Linked DNA regions of Homo sapiens: region 2 is linked to region 1. The links are contacts of gene promoters, found by promoter capture Hi-C in blood cells and fetal thymus (Javierre and others, 2016). All regions are on one chromosome and are shown on one strand. The core of a region is centred on a gene start or on the middle of the fragment in contact, and the rest is flanking DNA. Distances in the headings are between cores, read along the strand shown.

Region 1 (4,988 bases), core at 2,309-4,808:
AAGGCTGTCAAGTTATTTTAAAAACAAGGAACAAAATAACTCTTCTCTAATTCTAGCATTTATTTAAACAATAATTTTGCATAACAGTATGCTTTTAACTGAATAAGTTTTTAAAAACATCTTTTAACCAGTTTTGTACACTCAGTTTATCATCATCTTTACTGTGTTTCTCAACGTGGAAATGGAAGGGAATGATGCAAATGACAGTAACAGCAATTAACAGCAGCAGTTGTCATCATAGCAGCAAGAGTAGAGTATTTTTCATATCCCATTGCTTTCCACAAATATTTTAGGCCTGACTTTTAAAAAATAAATAATTAAATGACCAAGTCATGCAAAGAGAACTTCGTAAAACCTGTTAGGAAGTTCAGGCTTAATCAACTGATGCTTAATCAATATTTTTTGAGTTAATAAAAACTAGCAAAATATTGTTTTATATCAAATGCTGACTGATATCCTTAAGAAATTTTGATGACTCAAGAAATCTGTTACTACTTCCTCACGAATTTTGCCGACGATGTGTCTTTCGTGACAAGCCACATTTGTTGATTAAGACAATGACTCCATGATACTGGAGTCACCTCTTTCCTGGTATTAACCCACCAGTTGGTTTCCTGGTAGGAAAGAGCCTACCTTTTTCCTGGTATCAACTCACTCAAAAGCATCATTACTTCAGAAAACTTTTCATACAGTTTTCTTAAAACGATTAGGAACTTTTAGGAAATCTTACTAATGAACGAGGAAAGAAATCTGGATAACGTTAAGTAGGGGGAAAAAAGGTGTCCAGTGAAGCCAATAAACATTTTCAGCAATGTATTTTGGTGTTGAACAGAAAATGAAATATACTATGAATAGTGTTAAAAAAAAAACCTTTATATCTTGTTCTGGAAATGGCTTTGATCTTATGTTTGAAAATGTATATGACTTGCGAATTCACAATATCTCAATCTCAATAATGAAGAAAAGCTATAAAGTCACCCCACAGGAGGAAAGAGAAAGAAGTCTGCTCCCCTCATTTTGTGTCCTGCTGAGCTTATCTCTGCAATTAACTCCACATCTCAACTCTCAGAAGACTCCGAACTCTCAGCTTACACCCTTCCTTTAAGCTTGCTTAAGACTAGAAATTTCTATGTTGTGACAGGGAGAAAAATCATTCCAATTAAATATGCTCTACTGCTAAACTCTAATTTAAAGAAAACAATAAATGAGGTGGAGAAAAATAAGAAATACATTCATCAACTGAAACTAAGGCTAGTGAGGCAGAAATAATTTTATACATGTTTATTGAAAGCCAACTGGGAAGACAGACCTGGGAAGACACATCCACAAAGTTGGGGGTGTTCTAGAGTCTTTCACAAGTTACAAGGGCTTTATATAATAGAAAAGCTTAAAATAAGGCAGAAAAACTCCTCATACCAGAGTTGTCTTCTTTTTCATTGGAGGGTACAATACCGAAGTTAAAATCATTAGCTACAGATTACAGCATACAGGCTAAATGTCTACATACAAAACAATCAATAAAACTTTTTGTTTCAGCTAAACTTAGAAATAAATCATTGTCCTATTTAGTGTCAGTAGGTTCTACAGTAATTAGTACATCAATCATTTGAGGAACTCGTAATAAAATACTTTACTCAGAGATAGAATGTCACCATCAAGTCACGAAACCTTTCCAGGGCGAGTTAATTTGGAAGTCTGCTTACTTCTAAAGTAAACTGTCAAATGTGGTCTGTAGGTTATCGCATTTAAAAACAGGACCTGAGAACTTGAGTAGACATAGTAGATAACTATTAAACAATAGGGAAAATTGGCTTGAAAACAAAAACATGATTTAAAAAATTACTATATTCATCTTTTTGATAGAGAGTAATTTTGAACATTTAGTATTTTAAGCATTTCTTCTAAAATTTAAGGATATGAAAAGTAAGAAAAGAATATGGAAAATTTAAATAATATTCTGTGAGACTTATACATAGTTGTAAAAGGAAGAAAACTTGTTGCCAGTGCCACTTACATCTGCCTCTTCTTTATTGACAATCTTCCAAATAAATTTAAATAGCATAGTTGCTTTGGGTCCTGTCGAGTTTGGCCTGGAATTGTAGGTGATTAGAAAGGATAGGGAAGCTTTCATGTGATACGTATTCATTGATTTATTAATTATTTAAGACCTACTTTATATTGAAGTATCCTACATGTTATAGGATACATGAGACATTCAAACAAACACAGGACATGCCACTCCCTACAAAAGTGCATGGTTCAATTGAGGAAGGAAGTCTTACAGATGGGACAGAGAACCAGAAAATAACATAAAGCCAACATGTAATGTGTAGGTCCACCTCTCTATCTTTGTAGGGATATAGCATTTCAGACCAAAACCTTTAATTTGGGTCTGAGAATTCAGGAACAAATATTTTCCTTGGTAAGGACATTTCTTGCACAATTTCTAATAGTGCAAAATTGGAAACACCGTGAAGGGCACCAACAAGGCAAGGTTGAGTAACTATTGTTCTTATCACAGGACGTCACATGGTCATTAAGAAGAATGGGGGAAAACTACATTAAGATGACCTGAAAAGATAAGGAACACATATTTTTTGAAGGATAAAAGTCAGCTGTATAGTGATCCATATACAATACTTCTATGTATATGTGTACCTCTATGTCTTAAACGTGTCTCATTGTATACATATACATGTGTGCATATAAGTGCAGACAGAATTGAAAACTAATGCAAAATTGTTACCAGTGTTTACCACTGAATAGTAGGAATGTGGAGAAATGATGAAGAGAAATTTGTGTTTTATTTCAAAGACATCTGCAGCATACGAATCTTTTGCAATAAATTATATAATTTTTCTGTTAAATTAAAAATAAAAAGAAAAATAAATATGCTGGGTCCTACTTTTTAGGTATTCTTAGGTGGTAGAAACAAGTAGCTTCTTTTGTAATATAAAGGAGGATGAGTTTCATTTGTAGTTTCTAGATGAAATTACAAAAGATAATATAGATTGAAGGCAGAAAGAATCCAATAAGCTAAAATCCAAAGACAACCTTTGACGGTAATTGGCTCTTATTTTACTTACATGCTCCAAACCAATCCCAATATTTATCAACATTCATGAAAAGAACATTTGCTTTCTTTGGCAAGCAAAGATAACTTTCTCTTTCAAGGGCCACATGTTTGTGCCTTCAGGTGCTCCTAAAGTTTCTATTAAGCCTAAAAACTGCAGTATAGAAAAGGCAGGGCGTATTGTTATAAATCATACAAAGAAAATGCATGTAGTATTTCAGTCTAGTTCTTACCTTCCTGAACGGAGTTCTTACACAGGTGTAAGGAAGATAAGTATTGAGAAAGGGAGAGTGGGAATGTGAAGTGATGCACATTAAGCAAGTTAGTAGGAATTTGACCTGTCTGGTCTTTCTCTGGGTTGGGCACAGCTTCAAATGCTTATGTGTGTATCACCACATACCCTCACTTCCTCCTTTCCTACCTCTTCCTTCTTACTGGCTTTGAGAAAGAGCATATAAATGACATCTTCAGGGCATGAGAAGCCACTTATCTGCAGACTTGTAGGCAGCAACTCACCCTCACTCAGAGGTCTTCTGGTTCTGGAAACAACTCTAGCTCAGCCTTCTCCACCATGAGCCTCAGACTTGATACCACCCCTTCCTGTAACAGTGCGAGACCACTTCATGCCTTGCAGGTGCTGCTGCTTCTGTCATTGCTGCTGACTGCTCTGGCTTCCTCCACCAAAGGACAAACTAAGAGAAACTTGGCGAAAGGCAAAGGTAGAGGCCCTGCTTCTCTGCACTTGTTGCTGCTTCTGCTACACCTGTCTCTGGGGTAAAGACTAGCTTGGTGCCTTTGGGGCTGGAGAGGGCCATTATACCAATAACTCCAATTGGAGGAGACACACAGGGGGGTCACTTCTCACTTCTTGTGTGCTGGGCAATCTTCTGGGCACTTTACTAAAGCGTTACAGATCATATTCACAATGGCTTTATGAGAGAGGTACAATTGCCCTCAATCTGCAAATAAGAGACCTGAGGAAAATATTCATGACCACCAATAGGTCACATTTTCTACCCTAGAGGAAAGTCTAGACAGTGACTTGTATGCTGAACTCCGCTGCATGTGTATAAAGACAACCTCTGGAATTCATCCCAAAAACATCCAAAGTTTGGAAGTGATCGGGAAAGGAACCCATTGCAACCAAGTCGAAGTGATGTAAGTTGCTGTTTCTGTGCTATTGCCTTATCAGAGAAACCCTCTACCTCCATCCACATATGCACTCGTTTCCTCCAGTCTCATGGATTAGTTCTGATATTCAGATCAGGACACCCACAGATAACCCTGTTCTCTTTTGCAGAGCCACACTGAAGGATGGGAGGAAAATCTGCCTGGACCCAGATGCTCCCAGAATCAAGAAAATTGTACAGAAAAAATTGGCAGGTGATGAATCTGCTGATTAATTTGTTCTGTTTCTGCCAAACTTCTTTAACTCCCAGGAAGGGTAGAATTTTGAAACCTTGATTTTCTAGAGTTCTCATTTATTCAGGATACCTATTCTTACTGTATTAAAATTTGGATATGTGTTTCATTCTGTCTCAAAAATCACATTTTATTCTGAGAAGGTTGGTTAAAAGATGGCAGAAAGAAGATGAAAATAAATAAGCCTGGTTTCAACCCTCTAATTCTTGCCTAAACATTGGACTGTACTTTGCATTTTTTTCTTTAAAAATTTCTATTCTAACACAACTTGGTTGATTTTTCCTGGTCTACTTTATGGTTATTAGACATACTCATGGGTATTATTAGATTTCATAATGGTCAATGATAATAGGAATTACATGGAGCCCAACAGAGAATATTTGCTCAATACATTTTTGTTAATATATTTAGGAACTTAATGGAGTCTCTCAGTGTCTTAGTCCTAGGATGTCTTATTTAAAATACTCCCTGAAAGTTTATTCTGATGTTTATT
Region 2 (5,442 bases), core at 1,771-4,270, 280 kb after region 1:
AATCATCAGAAGGCATTCCCTTCAGGGAGCTGAATAGTCATGATGCCCAGGCATAATGTAGCTGGAAGTCATGATTCAGGGTTCTCAAAAGGTGAAACAGGTGGAAGAGAGAGGAGTGGTGGGAAGCAGCATTTATAGAAGCCTATTAGAACCAGGTGCTATGCCAGTTATTTTACTTGATCGTTATCTTCATTTAATCCTCTCATGTTACCAGTTGGTAAGTTTCCAAATGTAAAGTTTTACAGAACAAAAAGTGATTTTTTTTTGCTTGTTTTCTTGTTTTGTTTCATTTTTGTTGCAGGCATCCAAACTGAAGAGCAGCTCAGCCTGGCATTTTGACCACTTTGCGGGTCTTCACTGACCCTTCTTGAGCTCCACCTAACAATTAAGAATTACTCCCTTATGAGCTTAAAAAAATCATAAAAGTTCCAGCCTGAGCAATGGAGTGAGACCTGTTTGGAAAAAAAAATATATATATATATATAGTTGTATCTTTATGTAGTTGAATAGGAGACACAGCTTGATTTATGGGCTACTATTCTGTTCTTATTGGGCTATTATCCATAACTGGTTCACAAGTCTAAGAAACCATTGGTATAACAAAGTATAACCATATACAGTTCCTGAAGATGAATGAAAGCTGTTACTGATTTTACTGCTTCTTCAACGTTAAGAGACCCTATCAGACCTCAATGGGGTCACTATCAGCTCTAAGTTTGTTTCTATCCAAACGGACATAATTAAACATTAAAATGTTAATTTTACAAATATATTATAAGACTACTTACTTTCTACAGTGAGAATTAAGATCTAGTTTAGTTTTTGATTAATCACTATGTAGAATATAATTCAATAAAGATTTGATATTTGAACATTTCAAGATATTATTTAAATGGCCGTAGTTTCACAAATCCATTCTTAAAACATTTGTTATACTCGAGATATTACTACATAATTTTTTTTAATTTAGAAAATCAAATTCTGAACACAATTTATTTATATGAGCTATCCTATTGACTCAGCAGTTTTCTATTAATTAAGAGTCTTTTGGCTTTCCTGGTTTTCTTTGAGTATAGTATACCTTAAAATAATATTTCTTGGGTATCTGCTGTGTCCTGTGATGACATTCATTGTACAAAAATGTGAAGAAGAAAAATTCCCCCCAGTGGAGCTCATTGCAAGCCCCTCATGACTGTCTTTACTTCTAGCACTTAAGACTGAGTAAGCCCTTTTTTGTCACTGCTGTTTAATCAAACACATTGTTTAATAAGTTAGGTATTTAAAAAACCAATTATTGAACAACGGATATGGGCCAGGTACTATGAAGACTCTTGGGATTAAATATGACTGAGATAAATACAGTTCCTGCCTTTACAGACTATACAGTTTAGTAGACTCAACATTCGCCTCTAATTTAAGATTCTGAAGTTGAAGGCATGTGGATCTATACTTCTTGAGCAGTAATTCAGCATCTCTCTGTCCACTGATCTAAACTGGTGAAAATGGAAGTCACTACAAGTATTCTATGTGAGCAGCTCTTCAGCCTATAGTGAGATTAAGAATTGGCAGGCCTCTGGAATGAAGCAGAATACATTCCCACAGCAAATGTTCACCGTGTACCAACTCTTTACTAGATGATGGGGGTTACAATTTTGGTAGCAGTAGACATATTCTCAGCTCCTCAGAGAGTTTTGCATTCTAGAAGGAGAGATGTTTTAAAAATAAGTAATTAAAAGGTCATGTAAAATAGCACAGATTTCAATAATAGGTTTTCCTCTCTTCTCCCCCAACATAGTGCTGTAAGCACAGCATGACACAATCACCCAGTGAGATTTTACACCTGCCATGGAACCTCATTTAGTGACTGTGGCCTTAGAGAAACTAGTGCTCTATGGAAACTGGATCCGCAAGTCACTAGGATTATTCAAAATGTCTATGTTCAATCTTTGTATTCAACTCCACAGGGAAAGCCTTACGGTCATTTCTCACAAATGCTCTAGTCTTGAGAAAATCTGTAGATGACACATGATGAGTGCATTTCCTGGTAGGCTGAGTGCACCTGTTCACAGGTGTTGTGTGTGGACATCACAAGCCAAAAACAGACAGATCTGATATGCCTGGTTGTGTCTCCAGAATAATTTTCTGTCATTTGATTACGTGATTTGGCCTTGGTTATCTTCAACTAAGAAATGAAGAACTTAGGCCAGAAGAGATAGAAAATTCTGATTCTGCATTTACTTATTCACATCCCTTTCAAACTTTGTTTGGAGGGGTGGCTGAAGACATTGTTTGGGACAAATTCCTATCTCCAGCCTTGGGTCACTTTCATTTTTGAGGGCAAATAAGTAATAGTGTCTCCGTTCATATAAATTGTTTTCTCCAAATTAGCATTTGGAGAAAATACTCACATGGAAGGCACCACAGTAGCAGATACATTTGGGCTGCTCTATCTCCAGTGTTTGAGAGGAGCCATTTCCAACTTGTAGGGTTAATATGCAGACTAAAAAAGATCCACACATAAAGCGCCCTGCAGAGCGTGTCACACAGAGTAAGCATGAAAAATGTCTTGTTCTTTTCCTTTCATCATCCCTCTCTCCTTCTAGCTATCCTTTAATATATAAGATAATTTATTTCTAAAAATTTGATTATGCAACAAAATTCTATGTATTAGATCTGATTTTCTCATTATTACCTTTTATAAAATTATACATAAATTTTATAAGGAAAAATTATTATACATAAATTTTATACATAAAATTCATCCCTCTCTCCTTCTAGCTATTCTTTAATATATAAGATGACTTATTTCTAAAAATTTGGTTATGAAACAAAATTCTATATATTAGATCTGATTTTCTCATTACTACCTTTTATTAAATTATACATAAAAGTTATGAGGCAAAAAGAGTCTATCTTAAGCTTTTATGAAATACCTCTGAGAAGTATTTTATTTTCTCACATTTAAAAAGTTTCATTGTGTTTGAGAAAATGATGTCCTGATATTAGCAGATAAAATGTCTTTATGAAATTATAAATGGGATTACATTTTGCTTTGAGAAGTCCAAAATATATTTTTAAATATTCATTTAAAACTTCATTGTAGAAAATGAAAACAAGCTTTACCTGCAGTGCTGTGCCAGATATTATGCTGTTTTGTACAAATAGCATTTTATTTAACTCATGCAGTAATGCTGTGAAGAAAGTAGCTTATCTGCAACATTTCACGTAGAAGCTTACTTTCTCTTCCTCTTCCTTTGGCTTCCAGGATACTACACATTCCTGAATTTTCTCTACCACCCTGTTGCTGGTTTCTCTGTCATTCTGTTGCTGGTTCCTCCTAGATTTCTAAACAGTAGCCAACTCCAATCCCTTGGAACTGAGACCTCTTTCCTTCTCTACCTATCCCCACTTTTTGTGGCTATAAATATCCTCAAAAGCTGACAATTTGCACATGTGTATGTACAGCCTGGTCTCCTTTGCTGACTCCAGATATGACTATCCAAATGGCTCCTTGACAACTCGCTTGGGCAGCAATAGAAATCTCAAACTTAACTTGTCCAAAATTATATACTCCTCCCAAAGAGTTTTCCATTTCAGTAATCAGTAGCTCCATCTTTCCAGTCTCTCAGCCTAAAACTGCAGTGACATCTTCAACCCCTCTGTGGTTTCTATGGCCTCTTGATTTCCATTCAGTCTGTTTCAGCTACATTGATTTTTTTCCCTTTATCTCACAAGGCGTTGAGTCTTTGCAATAGCTCTTTCCTCTGTTGAAGACTGTTTCCATCTGCTGAAACAGTCTTCTCTCAGATAGCTACCTGACTCCCTCCCTCTCCTGCCTTAGAATTTTTGCTTCTCTGTGAAGGTTTTTTTGACTGTCCTATTTACAATTCTAACTCTCACCATCTTCAGCTCCTCATCTCTTCCTGCAGCAAATACTTCCTTTCACCTTCTCTGCATTATTTTATTCTTTAATACTTGTAAGCATCTGACATACTATATATTTTCCCTTTTCACCAATTTAGTACCTGACTTTCCATGTTCCCCTCCTTCCTACACACACACTAGAATATAAACTTAAGAAGGGCGAAGATTTTGTCAGGTTTTTTTTTTTTTTCACTGCTCTATGCAGTACCTAGAACAGTGCTTGGAACATTCTAGGCATTCAATATATATCTGTTGAAGGAAACCTCATTTCACAGTTGAAGTAATTGCAGCTCAAACCTTGGCCTAGGTGACACTGGGTGTGAATAACGGCTTGAATGACAAAACCCAGTTCTGTCTGTCTCAACACACATCCTGAGCCATCAGCATCATTTTGCTGTTAATATTTTCTATGTATGTATGTATTTATGTATCTATCTATCTAGTCGGTATCAACTGACTCAAGACTTGAATATATCCAACTGCCAACATGATATCTCACTGGGGAAATAATAGATATCTCACATTAACCTGTCCAAAATCAAGTGTGTTAATTTTCATTAGCGGACAAACAGTTCTGAGAACTAGAGGCTACCAATGGCCCTTCTCTTAGAAGTGTTAGGATCCCTGCTCTGGGAAAGGACAGGACAGGACCAGAGTTCCTTTCTCATGGCCCCAAGTGACTTAGTGTTCCCCTTGCCCTCCTGCCATGAAGCTCATGACTGTGCATGCCATATGCCTCATTTTTCCAAGAAGTCTTGTTTGCACATTCTTAATGCTTTGAAGAAACAGTATGCATATACGAATTAAATTCTAGGTAGGAACGATCTATGAACTGCAGAGTATGTTGTTAGAGGTTTCATCAGTGTTTGGAAAATCTTCCTCTTTATACGGGGCCAGTGCAGTGGCTCACACCTGTAATCCCAGGACTTTGGGAGGCCAAGGCAGGCGGATCACATGAGGTCAGGAGTTCAAGACCAACCTGGCCAATATGGTGAAAGCCTGTCTCTACCAAAAATACAAAAAAATTAGCTGGGCCTGGTGGTGGGAGCCTGTAATCCTAGCTACTTGGGAGGCTGAGGTGGGAGAATCGATTGAACCCAGGAGGCAGAGGTTGTAGTGAGCCAAGATGGCACCACTGCACTCCAGCCAGGGCAACAGAGGGAGAATCCATCTCAAATAAATAAATAAATAAATAAATAAAGAAGACATATGGGACAGTACACATCCATTTTTTATTATAAATTAAGACTTTACAAGATAAAAATGAAAGCATAAATGTTAAAGTTGGAGGACTAATAAAAGCCTAGAATGCTTATGTTGTAACAATTTTAAAAATATGCACAGTAAATCTTTAAAAGAGCTGCACATATATTTATGTCATACTAATTAAATTTATAACTCAGAGGGACAGAGTAGAATTGTGGTTAAGAGTGTGGCTTTAAATCCCAATTCTACTACCTACTCCTATGTGATCTTGGACAAGTTGCTTAACCTCTCTGCATTCAGTTACTAATCCAT

Evidence for each region. Contacts are between HindIII fragments. The CHiCAGO score rates a contact against its expected background, and 5 or more counts as called.
Region 2: a contact is called between a fragment that was not itself captured here and the fragment with the promoter of PPBP in region 1, in 2 of 17 cell types (megakaryocytes and M1 macrophages). The highest score is 8.3, in megakaryocytes.

Annotation. Positions count from the first base shown.
Region 1 is chr4:73,986,760-73,991,747 of GRCh38, reverse strand. It overlaps PPBP (pro-platelet basic protein), which reads left to right and starts at 3,558. Exons shown (of 3, transcript NM_002704.3): 1 at 3,558-3,792; 2 at 4,096-4,231; 3 at 4,374-4,988. The coding sequence starts at 3,645. The coding sequence ends at 4,476. The HindIII fragment of the contact is 3,234 bases long and covers 2,127-4,988 here.
Region 2 is chr4:73,710,422-73,715,863 of GRCh38, reverse strand. The region is part of intron 1 of INKILN (inflammatory MKL1 (MRTFA) interacting lncRNA); the gene reads left to right. It overlaps UMLILO (upstream master lncRNA of the inflammatory chemokine locus), which reads right to left. Exons shown (of 3, transcript NR_186371.1): 2 at 2,409-2,527; 3 at 1,337-1,698. Among named protein-coding and RNA genes, the nearest start is that of UMLILO, 2.8 kb to the right of the region's middle. The HindIII fragment of the contact is 198 bases long and covers 2,922-3,119 here.